4 separate regions of the Homo sapiens genome follow, and regions 2, 3 and 4 are each linked to region 1. Evidence: promoter capture Hi-C in human tissues and cell types (Jung and others, 2019). All regions are on one chromosome and are shown on one strand. Each heading gives the region's core, a stretch centred on a gene start or on the middle of the fragment in contact. The rest is flanking DNA. Distances are from core to core; before and after follow the strand shown.

The links. The method cuts DNA at HindIII sites, captures the fragments that hold promoters and counts their contacts. A contact is called where the count stands out against the background at its distance.
Region 2: a contact is called between a fragment that was not itself captured here and the fragment with the promoter of CCT8L2 in region 1, in 3 of the 25 tissues and cell types used here (H1 embryonic stem cells, dorsolateral prefrontal cortex and mesendoderm cells).
Region 3: a contact is called between a fragment that was not itself captured here and the fragment with the promoter of CCT8L2 in region 1, in 4 of the 25 tissues and cell types used here (H1 embryonic stem cells, dorsolateral prefrontal cortex, lymphoblastoid cells and 1 more).
Region 4: a fragment that was not itself captured here is called in contact with the fragment with the promoter of CCT8L2 in region 1 in 4 of the 25 tissues and cell types used here (dorsolateral prefrontal cortex, heart left ventricle, lymphoblastoid cells and 1 more).

Annotation. Positions count from the first base shown.
Region 1 is chr22:16,591,530-16,594,137 of GRCh38, reverse strand. It overlaps CCT8L2 (chaperonin containing TCP1 subunit 8 like 2), which reads left to right and starts at 1,328. Exons shown (of 1, transcript NM_014406.5): 1 at 1,328-2,608. The coding sequence starts at 1,588. The HindIII fragment of the contact is 16,456 bases long and covers 1-2,608 here.
Region 2 is chr22:16,713,303-16,715,910 of GRCh38, reverse strand. No RefSeq gene overlaps it. Among named protein-coding and RNA genes, the nearest start is that of LINC01665, 34 kb to the left of the region's middle. The HindIII fragment of the contact is 4,386 bases long and covers 1-2,608 here.
Region 3 is chr22:16,694,236-16,696,843 of GRCh38, reverse strand. It overlaps the pseudogene VWFP1. Among named protein-coding and RNA genes, the nearest start is that of LINC01665, 53 kb to the left of the region's middle. The HindIII fragment of the contact is 3,702 bases long and covers 1-2,608 here.
Region 4 is chr22:16,518,040-16,520,647 of GRCh38, reverse strand. No RefSeq gene overlaps it. Among named protein-coding and RNA genes, the nearest start is that of CCT8L2, 73 kb to the left of the region's middle. The HindIII fragment of the contact is 4,273 bases long and covers 1-2,608 here.

The DNA.
Region 1 (2,608 bases), core at 79-2,578:
TAAACTAAAGCAGAAGCATCATTACCCGAGTAGGCTCTATAGGAGGAAAGAGGAGACAAGTGAGGAAAGGAGAGAGAATGAAAAAAAGAGACTTAAATTGTAAGCATTGAAGGTTAGGATGGGAAGGCGATTCGCATTTAAATCTCAGGACCCCATTTAGGCTTCTACCTCCCTGACCGCTGGGAGGCTGGTTGCTTTTCACCCCTCTGGGTTCACTTCTATTTGTCTGTGAGCTGTCAGCATCCTTCCCCACTTGTCTTGCCCTGCCTCTGCCAGGGAGGCAGAGTTGGGAGTCGTGGCACAGGCATGCACGCTGTGCAGCCTCCCACACCTGCACCCTGAAAGACCAACAGACACCCTAAGAAACCTGATACACAAGCACAAACTGATAAGATACCCAAAAAGTCAAAGGCAGACAGCAAAACATGGCTAATATTACACAGTACTGCAAGAGAAAGTAACACCAAAACAAAACAAAACACAGACATCATCTCTCAGTTCCTTCTCAAATAAAAAAAAAAGGCCAGGTGCAGTGGCTCACACCTGTAATCCCAGCACTTTTGGAGGCCGAGGTGGGCGGATCACTTGAGGCCAGGAGTTTGAGACTAACCTGGCCAACCATGGCCAACATGGTGAAATCCCCCTATCTCTACTAAAAATATAAAAAATTAGCCGGGCGTGGTGGCTGGCACCTGTAATCCCAGCTACTGAGAGGCTGAGGCAGGAGAACTGCTTGAACCTGGGAGGTGGAGGTTGCAGTGAGCTAAGATTGTACCACTGCACTCCAGCCTGGGCAACAGAGTGTGACTCTGTCTCAAAAAAAAAAAAAAAAAAAGGGTGGGTGAGGTGGTGGCTCACACCTGTAGTCCTAGCACTTTGGGAGGCCAAGGTGGAAGGCTCTCTTGAGGCTAGGAATTCGAGACCTGCCTGGACAACAGACAGAAACACTGTCTCTACAAAAAATAAAAAAACTAGCTAGGTGTGGTGGTGTGTGCCTGTAGTCCCAGGTACTTGGGAACCTGAGCAGGAGGACTGCTTGAGACCAGGGAGCTGGGCCTGCAGTGAACCATGGTTATGCCCCTGCACTCCAGATAGGGTGAAATGGGTAGTTTTTCACTTGATCTCCTCCTCATTGTCTCTTACGTTTAAACAAGTCTCAAACCTGGTGCAGAGGTGCATGTACCTCCATTGCTGGACAAGGCCTGACTTTTGCCTGCTGGTAGGGCCTCCTCAGTTCTAACCAGCCTTCTGTGACCTCATTCTCTATCCTGGTTCCATTTTCCACTTTGTGACTTCATCAGTTAAAGATCCCATTTCAGCCACCAAGGTTGAGAGGCCCCAAGACCCAGTTCCTTTACAGAATCAACCCTGGGGTGGCTTTAGGACTGGGCTCTTTGGAGCTCATCCTTGGACCCACAGTGGAGTGCTGGTCCGTGCTGATGTCTTCAGATACCAATCAATGGGCATTTGGCTCCTTGCTTCCACTGACCTCTTGAGTACTTTCAACGATCGGTGTCAGGAGTGCCCCAGCTGCTGTTTCTAGAGCATCTCTGCAACCCACGGTGGCCTCTCCTCTCTCTGCGGGCCATGGACAGCACAGTCCCTTCAGCCCTGGAGCTGCCCCAGCGGCTGGCACTGAACCCAAGGGAGAGCCCGAGGAGTCCAGAAGAGGAGGAGCCCCACCTGCTGAGCAGCTTGGCTGCAGTCCAGACCCTGGCCAGTGTCATCCGGCCTTGCTATGGCCCCCACGGCCGGCAGAAGTTCCTGGTGACCATGAAAGGAGAAACAGTGTGCACGGGGTGTGCCACTGCCATCCTCAGGGCCCTGGAGCTGGAGCACCCAGCAGCATGGCTCCTCCGGGAAGCAGGACAAACCCAGGCAGAGAATAGTGGGGACGGCACAGCCTTCGTGGTTCTGCTGACGGAAGCCTTGCTGGAACAGGCAGAGCAGCTGCTGAAGGCTGGCCTGCCTCGCCCGCAGCTCCGGGAGGCCTACGCCACGGCCACTGCAGAGGTCCTGGCCACACTGCCCTCCCTGGCCATCCAATCTCTGGGGCCTTTGGAAGATCCATCCTGGGCCCTCCATTCTGTGATGAATACCCACACCCTGTCCCCCATGGACCACTTGACCAAGCTGGTGGCCCACGCCTGCTGGGCTATCAAGGAACTAGACGGCAGCTTCAAGCCTGAGCGTGTTGGGGTGTGCGCGCTGCCCGGGGGGACACTGGAGGATTCCTGCCTCCTCCCGGGGTTAGCAATATCTGGGAAGCTCTGTGGGCAAATGGCCACAGTGTTAAGTGGTGCCAGGGTGGCTCTCTTTGCTTGCCCCTTTGGTCCTGCCCATCCAAATGCACCAGCAACGGCCCGTCTTTCTAGTCCTGCTGATCTAGCTCAATTTAGTAAAGGAAGCGATCAATTACTAGAAAAGCAAGTAGGCCAGCTAGCAGCTGCAGGAATTAATGTGGCAGTGGTGTTGGGGGAGGTCGACGAGGAGACCCTCACACTGGCGGACAAGTATGGCATCGTGGTGATTCAAGCTAGGTCTTGGATGGAGATCATTTACCTGAGTGAGGTGTTGGACACACCTCTGCTGCCTCGTCTGCTCCCTC
Region 2 (2,608 bases), core at 40-2,539, 120 kb before region 1:
TATCAATTTTCAAAGGGATGTTAGACAGTAGTTCCATAATAATTGATGCAGTTCACAAACATTCATTGTGAATATTTTATCTCATGAGTTTTATCTATGATACTAATCATAGACTTCTAGAAGAAATTTAACAATGATCATGTCAGCCTTTCAAATCTTTCTGTAACCTAGAAGAGGATCGTTGCATAAGATAGATTCGTTTTCCCCTTTATTCCGTCGTTGCCAGAGAGAACTTGAAATGCCCTGTTCAAATTAATTTAATGCAAATGAATTCTTGCTGCCTCACAAGTAGTTTGTCCTTCATTTTTCTTAAAATTATATTGTAAATGGATGTGACATGCTTAACTGGTTGTTGTGCAGGGGGCATTGTCCTTCCTAAAAGCTCCCTCATTTGTCAAAATGAAGCCATTAAGAGTAAAGTAAATTTTATTATCTGATCACAGTATCACAATTGACCTTAAAACAATAAATTTTATAATCAGTGTAAATTGCTGAATAGTGTTTGCAGTTGTAGAAATTTCAAAGGAAACCCTGGTTGAGATACAAAGCTGCTATAATCATTTTTAAAATCTTCGTTTTTTTTTTTTACTTTGGAACAGTAGTGCAGTAAGTAAGTACTTTTGCCTTATTGCTCTCTCTGCCTTCCAGCAACCCTCATTCAAATATTCTAAGTTTTTAAGTCTTTTTCATTTCTTTTAATATTGTAACATTTAACAATGTCAAAGAAAGTATAAATTTTCTGAAGATCAAGCTAAAAATAAAGAGAGGTTGGTGTAACTGAACATCAAATTAACAAGATTGATTATGAAAGGTAATTTTTGAAAAGGGCCAAAGATCCCTTTGCACATAAATGCAAAAGAATTTAGTGAAATAAGGTGAAACTGGAATAAAGAACTCTACTGATGCTTAAGTAACTCTTAATGAGAATGAGTATTGTACATGCATATTTTTAGCTCCCAGTTTCAGAGATACAGTAGTTGTACAACAAATGGTCCTTTCCTGCTATTAAGGAAGCCTCCCCTCCTCCAGCCATGCTATTCCTCAGAGCAAGCACTTCAACTGAGTTTTCAGCAACCATAAGTAAGAAGGATGGTATGATAGGCTGCGTGTACATATGGCCCTCATTAGCAGGCCAACTGTTCCTTTTGCCCACCCACATCACTGGGGACATATGGCATTACTTTGACTGTGGAAACAAGTGTGTGTGCACATATCTTGGTATGAGTAAAAGACTGTTGATTGTCTTTCTCTTGTCGCTCATGCAACCATCTCCTTGTGGAAATCATATTATCCATAACACTAGATTTGAGGATGATAAATGACGTTGTTATTATTAACTGAATTTGCCTCTCTAGTTTGATCACAAAACCAGTGAATGTTTGCTTATGGAACATGTAAAGCTTATAGAAGATAGAAAGCTTACAGAAAGAAATGATGGCTTTTCTAAGCATAAGAGTCAGGTCTTTTTCAATAAAAAACTAACTCATTCAAAAATTCAAGAATTATGTAAAACCAGAACAGCAGACAGTTCAGAAATGCTATTGAGATCATTTATTATAAAATAGCCAATTAATGAAATGTAATAGTGAGTCTGTTGTTGTTAGTTGTGACTATATGGAGAAATTAATGAGAAAATATAAGATAGGCTGGAATGAAGAGAGTCATCTGATCCCAGCACAATTCATTTTATATAGTTCACAGTATTGTAACTTTTTAAAAAAATTATTAATTTTTTCAATATTGTAAATTCTGAATTTGCAATATGAGGCTTTTCAATACTTGCAACAAGTGTGTATTTTTCAGAGGTGGCTCTAGAATTACATATTGGGGCTTGCAAGCTGCATTCTGATAAGAAGGCAAGGCTAGAGGACTCATGTTGAGGTGGCATTTGCACAGAACTTGATTTAGATAACATACATCAGTGGTGTAGAGAGAAGAGCGGGTGATGTTGCTGAAGATTATAGGGGAGATAATAACACTGAAGGGCACCTTTTGCTACCTCTGCTGGCCTATTTGTATATTCAGCTGTGTAGCATATTTCTTGTATAATTACATAGTAATTTCACACACTACATTAAGAAAATCTGAACAATTTTTACTAAACTCATGTTTTCTAAATATTAAGTAAATAAAACCAATATTTGGATAGGTAACATTTATAAAAACAGTATTTCTAGATAGATATAGATGATAAATTTTCATCTATATCTATAGGGCTGATAAATTTTCAAAACCCTTTGAATATCACTTGTACTACAAAGTCTTGTTTCAGTTTCAGTGCCATGGCACATTGATTAATCACCACTAAAGCGGTACATGAAATATTTGGCAATATAGGTGTCAAGATATTTGGTAATGGTGACTGATGTATGCACTGGCCTTGAGAACTTTAGTTTTCATCTTCGTTCACCTTGATAGAGAACAAACTAACAACTTCAAATTATCTGATCCATCAAACAATTTATTTCCTTGAAACTCACTGATTTATTTATTTATTTATTATTTTGGGGGGATCACTATTATTTGCTGTATTAAAATATCAAATGATCAAGGTATTATACCAACATGGCAGCTCACATGGTGGGCAACAGAATGAAAACAAAGAGGT
Region 3 (2,608 bases), core at 53-2,552, 100 kb before region 1:
ACCTGGTGCTGCAGAGGTGCTGCTCCGGAGAGGGGCTGCAGATCCCCACCCGCTCCCCTGCCCCTGGTATGCTGGCACCTTGTGTGCAGGTGGGAGGGCTGGGCGAGGGCTGGCATGGCCTTGGTACTACATGCATCTGCCAAGATATGACTTGGGTTCTAATCCTGGCTTCCCTGGTCTGTGTGCCCTTGGTTGAAACTTGCCTTCAAAGGGCCTGTGTTTCCTCACCTCCCTGGCAGGGAGACAAACTGTGATCCTTTTGCGGGGGAAGATCTTTTCTTATTGTGTGTGCTTCTGTAAATTCAAAGGTAATGGAAGCCTATTGTTAACATTTAAACAATGCCACTAAGGAGTAAAAAAAAAAATATGCAAGTCTTACTTTATCACACGGCCTCTTCCCCACCCAATTCCACCCTCCACCTTCAAGGTAACCTCTGTTAAAGGTGATGATGATAAGCTTCGTTTTGACCACACTGGGTGGGTGAAATTATTCTGAGTAGCTGACATTCTTCAGGGCGAGACCAGGATGTCAGGTGCCAGGTAGCAGGTGCAGTCTTCAGACACTGGAGTCAGTGTCTGCCTTAGTTTGAATCTTATCTCTGCCACTTGCTAGCTGGGTAATTTTGGGCAAATACTTAACCTCTTTGTATATCAGTCTCCTCATCTATAAAATGGGGATAATAATAGCACCTACTTGCTTAAAATAGTATCTGGCACATGACAGTGCTCAAAAAAAATGCTTGCTCCCACTGCTGTTATTACTACCTTTTACTGACACTGGTGTCTAATCCATTCCTAGTTCCTGAACATCTTTATTCGGTGTGTTTGGGACCATCTCAGAATAATAAGCCTTCTTTTAGTATCTTTTGAGTCTCACACTTGTCAGTACTTTTGTTTCTTTGTTTTTGTTTTTATTCATGGCCATAGATTTATTTAAATTCTTGTAATATTTCTGCTGAGGAAAACAACAATTACATCATTTCATCAAATCTCAGATGTGCTCAGACACTAACAGGAGCACTAGGCATTTATAGCTGGAAGAATCACAGTACGTTCACCTGCCTTGCAAGATCTGAGGACACAGCAGCTCATTGTCCAGGGAGGGGCTGCCGCTCCATTTCCTTTTGCAGTCTTGTATTGCCAGGCCAGTATTTTACTCATTTCTAGAAGAGTGGCGGCCCCTTCTTACCGAGGAAGCCCATGCCTACTGCTTTTATTTGTAGACATTTAAGCTTCCTTTGGGTAGAACTGGAGGCTTCTCAGTGTCTCCAAACCTGAGGTAGTCCAGCCCCAGGAACTCCATCTCCCCTATCCCCTCCTCCCTGGCCCACGTTGCCCTTGCACTCACAAAGGCAGCCCCCGCCCCCCTTGGTGGTGCCACGTGGTCAGCACGCCCTGCAGATCCTATGGGATGTCAGGTTGTAGGCCTGGCGGCCAGTGCCCCTGCTGGCACCTGTGTGCTCACCTTCCTGGTTATCTTTGCAGACTGCAGCCAGCCCCTGGACGTGATCCTTCTCCTGGATGGCTCCTCCAGTTTCCCAGCTTCTTCTTTTGATGAAATGAAGAGTTTTGCTAAGGCTTTCATTTCAAAAGCCAATATAGGTGAGTGAGTGAGGCACCTGAAGCAGCAGGTGACGAAGAGGCTCTTTTTGGGGCTCCACTTGATTCAGAATAATCCCCATTTTCTTGTTCCGTTTAGGGCCTCCTCTCACTCAGGGGTCAGTGCTCCAGTATGGAAGCATCACCACCATTGACGTGCCATGGAACGTGGCCCCGGAGAAAGCCCATTTGCTGAGCCTTGTGGACGTCATGCAGCGGGAGGGAGGCCCCAGCCAAATCGGTAACGTTGGTGCCACAGGCTGGATGCAGAAGCTGCATTCTGGTTCTTATTTTTGGCATAAGTGACTGTGTGACCTCGGCCAGTCACTTTGCTCCTTGGCCTTAGTTTCTTCTCCTGGAAAGTGAGGGGCTAGATGCTCTTCCACGTCTCTCCAGATCTCAACTGGGTGTTCCTTGGAGTCTCTGAATCATTCAGCTTTTAAGTGACTTAAGGATCCACCGTGAGACAGGGTGTCCAGCCGCAGTCAGTACTGACTTGGTGTGATCTGTTCTCCATCCTCAGGGGATGCCTTGGGCTTTGCTGTGCGACACTTGACTTCAGAAATGCATGGTGCCAGGCCGGGAGCCTCGAAGGCGGTGGTCATCCTGGTCACGGATGTCTCTGTGGATTCAGTGGATGCAGCAGCTGATGCCGCCAGGTCCAACAGTAAGAATCTGGTGTACAGTCCTCAATTCAGGAGAGCGAGACTTCAGAAATGATAGAGGATTAAAAGTGGCCTGGGGTTACTTTTGGATGTTGTGGCTGATATTAAATATGCTCAGTACCAACCTCTGTCCTGGTTTCAAACAGCAGGAAATTATCCAATCACGATGTGATTAGGAAACCAAACAATAATAAGTGTGTGTTGATCCTATATCTTTATAACTAATTATAACCCTTTAATTTCTCCACATTTTCCCTTTGTGTCCAGGAGTGATCATACCTCTATGCCCTTTCTTTCTAAAGTAGGATTCGTGGTCTCTTACTAAAATGTCATGTCTGAGGCCA
Region 4 (2,608 bases), core at 66-2,565, 73 kb after region 1:
CGGCTCGGGCGCCGGGGGCGGCGACTGCTCCATATCCACGGGGTCCGGGCCGCGTCCACCTGGAGCTAAGGGTCCCGCCAGCTAGGCGCGCGCGCCAGTTTCGCGCGCCATGTTCCCGCCGTGCTGCGCGCCGCCGCGGCGACCCTCACTGCCCCCCAACCGCGCGCGCCACCCCTCCCCGCGCGGCCCGCCTCGCGCCCTCTGGAGCTGGCCGCTGTTCCCAGTGTCTCGCCCACCCCCGCCGGGCCCGTCCGACTTGGAGGGTGAGCGCGTGGTTCCCGGCTCCGCACCGCCGCCTGCCTCTCTGCAGACCATCCCGCACCCGACCCCTCGGCCACTTCCCCACACTGCCCCTTTCGCTTCCCCCACGACGCGGGGCCTAGGACGAGGGTCTGGGCCAAGAGGAACTTCCCTGCAAGAAGTGCGGAGCTAAGGACGCTACTAAGGGGGCGGGATCGCCACCATGGAGGTGTGCAAGCACGTGCCTGCGTCCCGGAGACAGCCAGACTCAACGGAGAAGCTGAGTTCAAGCCCCACATCTCCACTAACCCTTGCGTGTTAGGGTCAGGGCTTCGGGACTTGTTTCTCCTAAATTTTTTTTTTTTTTTTGAGACAGTCTCGCTCTGTCACCCAGGCTGGAGTGCTGTGGTGCGATCTCGGCTCACTGCAAGCTCCGCCTCCCCGATTCATGCCATTCTCCTGCCTCAGCTTCCCGAGCAGCTGAGACTACAGGCGCCCGCCACCGCCTGCTAATTTTTGTATTTTTAGTAGAGGTGGGGTTTCACCGTGTTAGCCAGAATGGTCTCCATCTCCTGACCTTGTGATCTTCCTACCTCGGCCTCCCAAAGTGCTGAGATTACAGGCGTGAGCCAGCGCGCTCGGCCTGTTTCTCCTAAATCTAAAGACTCAATATGATAATCAAGAGAACGTCTCAGCACCGCGCCTAGCGCTTAGTAGGTAGTGATCAAGAGAGAAGACCTCTTAAGTGGTTTTAATGGTTAAGGACCACAGGTTCTCAAGAAAGGGAAATCTCAATTCAAGTCCCGCCTCCATCTTTTGGAAACTGAGAAACCTTGAACAAGTCACTCAGAGGAGCCAAAGATCCTTGATTTCTACATGTGCGAAAGGGGAGTGTGGCAGTAGCACTGCACAGGGTTGACTGAGCTTTCAGGGAGATGAGGACTGTATGATCATGCCTCTCTTAATCACGGGATGGTTCTGAGAAATGACTCCTTAGGTGATTGCAGCATTGTGCAAACAGCAGAGTGCATTTACACAAACCTTGTATAGCCTTGTATAGCCTACTAAACACCTAGGCTGTATGGCGTAGCCTATTGCTCCTAGGCTACACACCTGTACAGCCTGATACTTTACTGAATATACCATAAGCAGTTGTAACACAATGTAAGTACTTGTGTACCTGAACATAGAGAAGGTACAGTAAGAATGGAGTATGAGAGATTTTAAAATGGTACTCCTGTATAGGGCACTTACCATGAAAGGAGCTTGCAGGACTGGAAGATGCTGTGGTGAGTCAGTGAGTGTGAAGGCATAGGACCTTACTGTACACTACTGTAGACTTTATAAACACCATATGCTTAGGCTACACCAAAAATTTTTAAAGCTTTTCTTCAATAAATTAACCTTAGCTTACTGAAATGTATCTTAAAAAATATTGCCAGTCGTGGTGTCTCACACCTGTAATCCCAGCACTTTGGGAGGCCGAGGCAGGCAGATCATTTGAGGTCAGGAGTTCGAGACCATCCTGGCCAACATGGTGAAACCCTCATCTCTACTAAAAATACAAAACTTAGCCAGGCATGGTGGTGTGCACCTGTAATCCCAGCTACTCAGGAGACTGACGGAGGAGAATTGCTTGAACCCAGGAGGCGGAGGTTGCAGTGAGCCGAGATCATGCCACTGCACTCCAGCCTGGGCAATTACACGCATGGAGCTGTCATCTCCTCTGATAACAATGCCTTCTTCTTCCAGAATACTTCCTGAAGGACCTGCCTGAGGCTGTTTTATAGTTAACTACTTTTTAATGTAAGTAGAAGACATACATTCTAAAATTATGAAAAACACTAAATACACCAGGGCTGGGCACAGTGTCTCATGTGGGTAATCCCAGCACTTCGGGAGGCTGAGGAGGGCAGATCATTTGAGGTCAGGAGTTTGAGACCAGCCTGGGCAGTGTGGTGAAACCCCATCTCTGCTAAAAATACAAAGATTAGCTGGCCTTGGTGGTGAGTGCCTGTATTCCCTGCTACTCAGGAGGCTGAGGCAGAAGAATCGCTTCAACCTGTGAGGCAGAAGTTGCAGTGAGCCAAGATCACGCCACTGCACTCCAGCCTGTGCGACAGAGCAAGACTCTGTCTCAAAAAAATAAATCAGTAACATAGTTGTTCATTATCAAGTATTATATATTGTACGTAATTGTACATGCTATGCTTTTATAGAACTGGCAGCACAGATTTGTTTACACCAGCATCACCAGAAACACAGAAATGCATTACCCTAACATTACAATGGCTATGTCACTAAGCAATAGGAATTTTTCAGCTCCATAATCATCTTATGGTACCACTGACTTACGTGTGGTTTGTCA